2 separate regions of the Homo sapiens genome follow, and region 1 is linked to region 2. Evidence: promoter capture Hi-C in human tissues and cell types (Jung and others, 2019). All regions are on one chromosome and are shown on one strand. The core of a region is centred on a gene start or on the middle of the fragment in contact, and the rest is flanking DNA. Distances in the headings are between cores, read along the strand shown. Region 1 overlaps SORT1 (sortilin 1). Region 2 holds the start of GSTM1 (glutathione S-transferase mu 1).

Region 1 (3,455 bases), core at 617-3,116, 310 kb after region 2:
AATTTATAGCATAATTTGAGAGGAAGACAAATATGTAAATAGTTCTACATGTATAGTTTACATGTACATATAGTTTACATTTATATATAAATATAAATAGTTATAGTACCAGGAGTGTCTGTGAATGCTGTGAGGATAATGCTTAGGAAGAGGAGATCACTTTGAGCTGTGATAATTACAAACCAGAATGGTTGGTTTTACAGTGAAAGATGGGACTTAGGCTGTCTTTCAGATCTTTTTCACTGGTATAGTCTGTCCCCTGTGGCTGTCAAAAAGAAACACCCACAATAGAATGCTGAGGAGCAATGGACAAGTGCAGAAACACAGAACTTTTCCTTTTTGAAAGTTGCATTTTTCAACTTTTAGATTTAGGGGTACATGTGCAGGTTTGTTACCTGGGTATATTGTGCGATGCTGGGATACAAATGATCCCATCACTCAGGTAGTGAACATAGTACCCAAAAGTTAGTTTACCAGTACTCACCTGCGTCCCTCCTCTAATAATCCCGTTTCTGTTGTTGCCATCTTTATGTCCATGAGTACCCAGTGTTTACCTCCCAATATAAGTGAGAGCATGTGGTATTTGGTTTTCTGTTTCTGTGTTAATTTACTGAGGGTAATGGCCTCCATGTGCATCCATGTTGCTGCAAGGGACATGATATCATTCATTTTATGGCTCCATAGTATTACATGGTGTATATAGACCATATTTTCTTTATCCAATCCACTGCTGATGGGCACCTAGGTTGATTCCATGTCTTTGCTATTGTAAATAGAGCTATAATTAACATAGTGCATGTGTCTTTTTGGTAGAATGATTTGTTTTCTTTTGGATATATACCCAGTAACAGGATTGCTGGGTCAGATCATAGTTCTCTTTTAAGTTCCTTTTTTTTTTTTTTTTTTTGAGATGGAGTCTCCCTCTGTTGCCCAGGCTGGAATGCGGTGGCGCGATCACGGCTCACTGCAAGCTCCGCCTCCCGGGTTCACGCCATTCTCCTGCCTCAGCCTCTCCGAGTAGCTGGGACTACAGGCGCCCGCCGCCACGCCCGGCTAATTTTTTGTATTTTTAGTAGAGACGGGGTTTCACCGTAGTCTCGATCTCCTGACCTCGTGATCCGCCCGCCTCGGCCTCCCAAAGTGCTGGGATTACAAGCGTGAGCCACCACGCCCGGCCCTTTAAGTTCTTTGAGAAATCTCCAAATCGCTTTTCACAGGGGCTGAACATTCCCTCCAACAGTGTATAAACACTCCCTTTTCTCCACAGCCTCACCAGTATCTGTTTTTGTGTGTGTGTGTGTGATGTTTTAGTAATAGTCATTCTTTCTAGTATGAGATGGTATCTCATTGTGAAACCTGCATTTTTGAAAAATAGTTTCACTTGCTATAGAATTACAGCTTGACTGTTTTTTTGCCAGTACTTTAAATATGTTACTCCACTGTCTGGCTTGCATTGTAGGAAGAGTCGGCTATCATTCTTTGTTTCTCTGTATGTAATGTCATCTTTTTTGTGGATGCTTTTAAGATTTTTCTCTATTGCTGATTTTAGATTATTTGACTATGATATGATGTGCTTTGGTGTATTTTTCATCGTGTTTCTTGAGCTTAGGGTTTCTGAGCTTCTTGGATCTCTGGGTTTATCCTTTTCATCACATTTGGGGAAATTTTGGCTATTATATCTTTTTTTTTTTTTTTTGAAACGGAGTCTCACTGTCGCCCAGGCTGGAGTGCAGTGGCGCGATCTCGGCTCACTGCAGGCACCGCCCCCTGGGGTTCACGCCATTCTCCTGCCTCAGCCTCCCGCGTAGCTGGTACTACAGGCGCCCGCCACCTCGCCCGGCGAATTTTTTGTATTTTTAGTAGAGACGGGGATGGTCTTGATCTCCTGACCTCGTGATCTGCCCGCCTTGGCCTCCCAAAGTGCTGGGATTACAGGCGTGAGCCACCGTGGCTATTATATCTTAACTTTTTTTTCTGTCTCCAGCCCAGCCTCCTCTAGATGCCCTGATTGCATATATAATCAGCTGCTTGAAGTTGTTCTACTTCAAAAAGAATGAACAGAGCCATCGCTGAGCTGTAGAACAACTTTAAGAACATTTGTAGAAATTGTAGAACATCTTCTGAATTGATAGCTCTGTTCATTTTTTGTCTTTTTTTATCTCTGTGTTTCACTTTGGATAGTTTCTGTTGGTATGGCTTCAGGTTCACACTCACCTCTTCTACAGTGTCTAATCTCCTGTTCAGCCTATCCAGTGTTTGTTTTTTTGTTTGTTTGTTTTTGAGACGGAGTCTCACTCTGTCACTCAGGTGGAGTTCAGTCGTGCAATCTTGGCTCAATACAGCCTCCACCTCCCAGGTTCAAGCGATTCTCCTGCCTCAGCCTTCTGAGTAGCTGGGACTACAGGTGTATGTCACCACGCCTGGCTAGTTTTTGTATTTTTAGTAGAGACAAGTTTTCACCATGTTGGTGAGGCTGGTCTCAAACTTCTGAACTCAGGTGATCTGCCCGCCTCAGTCTCCCAAAGTGCTGGGATTACAGGCATGAGCCACAGCACCCTATCCAGTGTACTTTTCATTTCAGTCATTGTAATACTCATTTCTACAAGTCTAATTTAAGTCTTTTTCTTTTCTTTCTTTCTTTTTTTTTTTGAGACGGTGTTTTCTTGTCACCCAAGCTGTAGTGCAATGGTCCAATCTCTGCTCACTGCAACCTCTGCCTCCTGGATTCAAGTGATTCTCCTCCCTCAGCCTCTTGAGTAGCTGGGATTACAGGTGCCCACCACCACACTTGGCTAATTTTTAGTATTTTAGTAATTTTCGTATTTTTAGTGGAGACGGGATTTTACCATGTTGGCCAGGCTGGTCTCGAACTCTTGACCTCAAGTGATCCGCCCACCTTGGCCTCCCAAAATGCTGGGATTATAGGCATGAGCCACTGGGTCTTTAAAAAATTTTAAGTCTTTAAAAAAATTTTTTTTCTTTAACATTCTCAATCCATTCTCTAATTTCTTGTGGAGTACAGTTACAACTGTTGCAATGTCCTTATCTACTAATTATCTTGTTATTTCTGAGTTAGTTTGATTTTTCTCTTCATTATGGGTCCTGATTTCTTCTTTGCGTGCCTGGTTATTTTTAAAAATTTATTTTAAGAGACAGGGTCTTGCTCTGTTGCTCAGGCTGGAGTGCAGTGGTATGATCATAGCTCACTGTAGCCTCAAACTCCTGGGCTCAAGAGATCCTCCTGCCTCAGCCTCCCAAGTAGCGAGGGCTACAAGCATGTGCCACCATGCCTAGCTGATTTTTTTAAATTGTTTTTGTGGAAATGGGGGTCTTGCTACATTGCCCAGGCTGGCTTTGAACTCCTGGCCTCAAGTGATCCTCCCACCTCGGCCTCCCAAAGGGCTGGGATTATAGACATAAGCTACTGCACCTACCCACCTGATGATTTTTCAGTT
Region 2 (3,762 bases), core at 643-3,142:
ATTCGAGGGTGCCATTACATTCCTGAGTCTTCTACTTGAGTCTGCATATTCTAGGAGCAGGCAGGTGATGTGAACTGGCTGACAGAAATGACCCAGGACAGAAGTCAGAGGCCAGAGCTGATGAAGGAGATTCTGAACACAAACTTTACCATACAGGAACTGAATTTCTACCCTGGGATGCCTGGATCGTGTCCTAAGGTTGGTGGGAATTGCCTCTGCTTTTGTTGACATGACATTGGAGTCGTGAGAATAACTGCTGATAGTATGGGAAAGCACTTGGAGGATGAATGGTACCAGGGACTTAAGACCAGTGTGTGCAGGAATGCAAGAGTCCTGGCCCCAAATCCAAACTCTGTCAGATGCAGCTCACTGGGGACACTCACAAATTCTGGATTGTAGCAGATCATGCCCAGCTGCATATGGTTGTCCATGGTCTGGTTCTCCAAAATGTCCACACGAATCTTCTCCTCTTCTGTCTCCCCACCTGCCACCCACAAAACACAGACTCAATCTCAGCATCACAGCCCAGCCAAGGAGGAGGCCACCTTCCCCCCACACATTGCAGCCACCCACACTCACACAGGTTGTGCTTGCGGGCAATGTAGCACAAGATGGCGTTGCTCTGGGTGATCTTGTGAGCCCCATCAATCAAGTAGGGCAGCTGGATGGATGGGAAACCGGCGAAGCTCAGTTGGGCCACCAGGCTCCCCAGCATCCCCTTCCCATAAGCAAGAGCAGAGAGGAGACCGGGCACTCACTGTGCCTGCTCATGGCAGGACTGAAATAAGAATACTGTCACATGAACGAATGCAGGTGGACACAGAACATCATGGAAGGACTGTTTAGACAGCCAGGAGTGAGAGGAATTGGGCAGAAGACTCCTGATCTTAACACCTCTAAGCTGGGGAGAGGAGATGCAGTCAGAGACACGTTGCACTTTCCCCCAAAACCGCCCCTTCCCCTGCACCTACATTGGGAAAGTCCAGGCCCAGCTTGAATTTTTCATTCAGCCACTGGCTTCTGTCATAATCAGGAGCTGTGGTGGGGAAGAAGAAGTGAAAACAAACCTCCCCAGAGCCCAGCCCTCCTTCCCGGGGACCCTCCCACGGAGCCAGTGGCAAGATCCCTGAGACAGGTGGATCTAGAATCTGACCACTCAGTCCCACATCCCAGGGTTCAGGGACAAAGAATCCCGCTGAGGGCTCTGGACCCCACACAGCTAAGGCTTCCAGGGTTTAGGCAAGCCCTGAGGGACACCCGTCCCAATTAGACAGGGGGCCCAGCATCCCACCCCAGCATTCTGCCTTGCAAGGCCAGAGGGCTCCCTCACCGGGGCTCAGGGAAGAGACAGCCTGCAGCTCCAGCAGGGGAGGCCTGCAGAGGCAGCCACAGGTGGCCACCATGGGTTGCTTGGTGCCAACTTAGCGTGAGTGGGCAGAGCCCGAACACGAGGGTGCCATTACCGTCCCCCATCGTGTACTTCTTTTCCTCATAGCTTGAGTCTGTGTATTCCAGGAGCAGGCGGATGGCGTGGGCCAGCTGGGAGAGATGGCCCGCAGGTCGCGTCAGAGATGGAGGGTCCCTGACTTTGTCTGCACCAGGGAAGCCCCCAGTTTACACTGCACGTACCCGTTGCCTCCTCTACCCGCCCACACCCCCAACACACACACAGCGGCATGCACAGGCCCTTCTGAGGCGGGCAGCCCTGAAGAGGAACGGTCCCTAGAGTCCGTCCCGCAGCTGCTTCGCACTTCCCTCCCCTGCGCCCTCGTCCCACCGTCCAGCGGACCCTCGCTCACCCCGCGGATGTCCCAGTACCCCAGTATCATGGGCATGGTGCTGGTTGGTGCGGATTCCGCAGACAGGCCTAAACCGAGCAGGGCTCAGAGTATAAGAGCTCCGGAGAGGGGACAGGCGGGGCCTTGCTGCGACCCCGCCCCTCGGCCCGCCACAACCCGAAAGGCGCCATTCTGGAGGCCCGGGAGAGGGCGCCTGGGGCTGCACTCAGTAAGACTTCCTCCCGCCTCCCAGGCCCGAGGGTTCCGGGAGCGAAGTCAGGGCGCCCAGAAGCCCAAGGCGGGGCTCGGCCTCGCCAGCTTCCCTACCCAGCCCTGAGGCTCCACGAGTCCATCCAGCCCTTGCTAGGTCCACAGCGACTTGGCTGTGCGCTTGAGACACCAGCCAGATCCTAACGGAGCAAAGCTCTTCTCCCTTCTCCTCCCTGCCCGCGGTGTCCCTCAGCCTTCTCTCCGCTGCCGAGTTCCCAAGGGCTCTGGGAGACTCCGGCTGCAGGGGTCAGACTAAAAAGTGGTGGCCCCAACCTGGGAATTTAATTCAGCCCCTGTCACTGTAAGAGCAGGACTTCCTCTGATCCGAAAGCTACTCCCAGGGCTTAGTCTCCCCTCTAGCCCCGCCTACACAGGAACAGTGTCAGTGGTATAGGAAGGACCCCCAGGAAAAGGGCCAGAGTAAAGGAAATGTGGTCTGTGTTTTCTGTTAGGGGCCCTCGGGTACTGAGTCCTTCGGTCATCTGGCTAAGTACTGTGTAAATTAGCCACTTCGTATTTTGGCACAATTTATGAATCGAAATCCAAGGATCAGATCCAGCAAGTTGGTGAGGTATCTGAGGTGCCCCCTAGAAATGTCCAGCCAGTCCACTAGGTGAACCTCACAGAGACCGGAACAGCAACAGCAACAGTGAGTGCAGTGGCCACAGAGAGCAGGCGAGGGAGGATGGAAGAACTTCCCGGACCAAACTGAGGGTCCGGCTGCTATTTCTCTAGGCCCAATAACGAGATGCAGATCAAATGGGGAGGAAGAGAGGTTTTATTTCTGCAACCGGTAACAGGGAGAAGGCCTAGAAATTACCACCAGACCAACTCAATATTACAAAGTTTTCCAGAGCATATATACCTTCTAAGGTATATGTCTACAAGTAAGTGTGCATTCATCTAAAGACATAAGTGATTAACTTCTTTAATCTGTAACTGAGGTCTGGGTCCTGAGGACCTTATTCTGGAGCCTCAGTCTATTTATTTAATCTAAATGGGTCCAGGTGCGGGGGATGATTACCCTTATCTTGTCTCCTGCTAAATCACGGAGGTTTGGGGAGTTCCTTCAGACGCCCAATAAACTTGTTTGTGGAGGCCTGGGGAGTTTCTTCAGACTCACAATAAAACTTGTTTAATTCTAAATAGGTCCTGTTAAGAATTCCTTCATTGTTTTGTCATGCTTTAAGGCCCAGGAAAGGCCTAAGCAAAACTCTTGGTGGGCTTTTGTTACATCCAGCCTCTGTATAAAGGTACTGGCTTTTTTCAGCTTTTAATATTTAACTTCACCACTCAGTCAGTACTGAAACAGTTGTTATGGAGGCCTGTGTTAGTGACGCCTGGCCTGCCACAGAACCTGTCCCTCAGAGAAGCCAGAACCCTGTCCTGCTGAGGAGGGAGGTCAGAGGATGGTGGCCAGAGAGGAGCCTGAGGGCTCCCCACAGGACCACAGGCAGGGACCCTCCCCTCTCCAGATCCACCATTCCGGACCTGGACCTGGCTCCTGACCCATGTGTGTTCTTCAGTATGAGACGGTGGCTCCAGTGGCCTTTGAAGTCACACCGTGATATGTGACCCATGGTACAACCTCCACGAGAACAATGTCCAACCTGCCAACTTTCTTCTTTCAAGGTAGAAGGAAGACTTTCAAAAGAGTTGTGCAATGGATTAGCCTGGGGTTGACTGCTTTAAAGGATATTGCAAATAATAATGG

Evidence for each region. The method cuts DNA at HindIII sites, captures the fragments that hold promoters and counts their contacts. A contact is called where the count stands out against the background at its distance.
Region 1: a contact is called between a fragment that was not itself captured here and the fragment with the promoter of GSTM1 in region 2, in 1 of the 25 tissues and cell types used here (adrenal gland).

The regions. Positions count from the first base shown.
Region 1 is chr1:109,373,783-109,377,237 of GRCh38, reverse strand. All of the region lies in intron 1 of SORT1 (sortilin 1), which reads left to right. Among named protein-coding and RNA genes, the nearest start is that of SORT1, 22 kb to the left of the region's middle. The HindIII fragment of the contact is 7,210 bases long and covers 1-3,455 here.
Region 2 is chr1:109,685,947-109,689,708 of GRCh38, reverse strand. GSTM1 (glutathione S-transferase mu 1) reads right to left here and starts at 1,892. Exons shown (of 8, transcript NM_000561.4): 1 at 1,800-1,892; 2 at 1,464-1,539; 3 at 972-1,036; 4 at 580-661; 5 at 384-484. The coding sequence starts at 1,835. RefSeq lists an enhancer at 1,793-1,842. The HindIII fragment of the contact is 14,943 bases long and covers 1-3,762 here.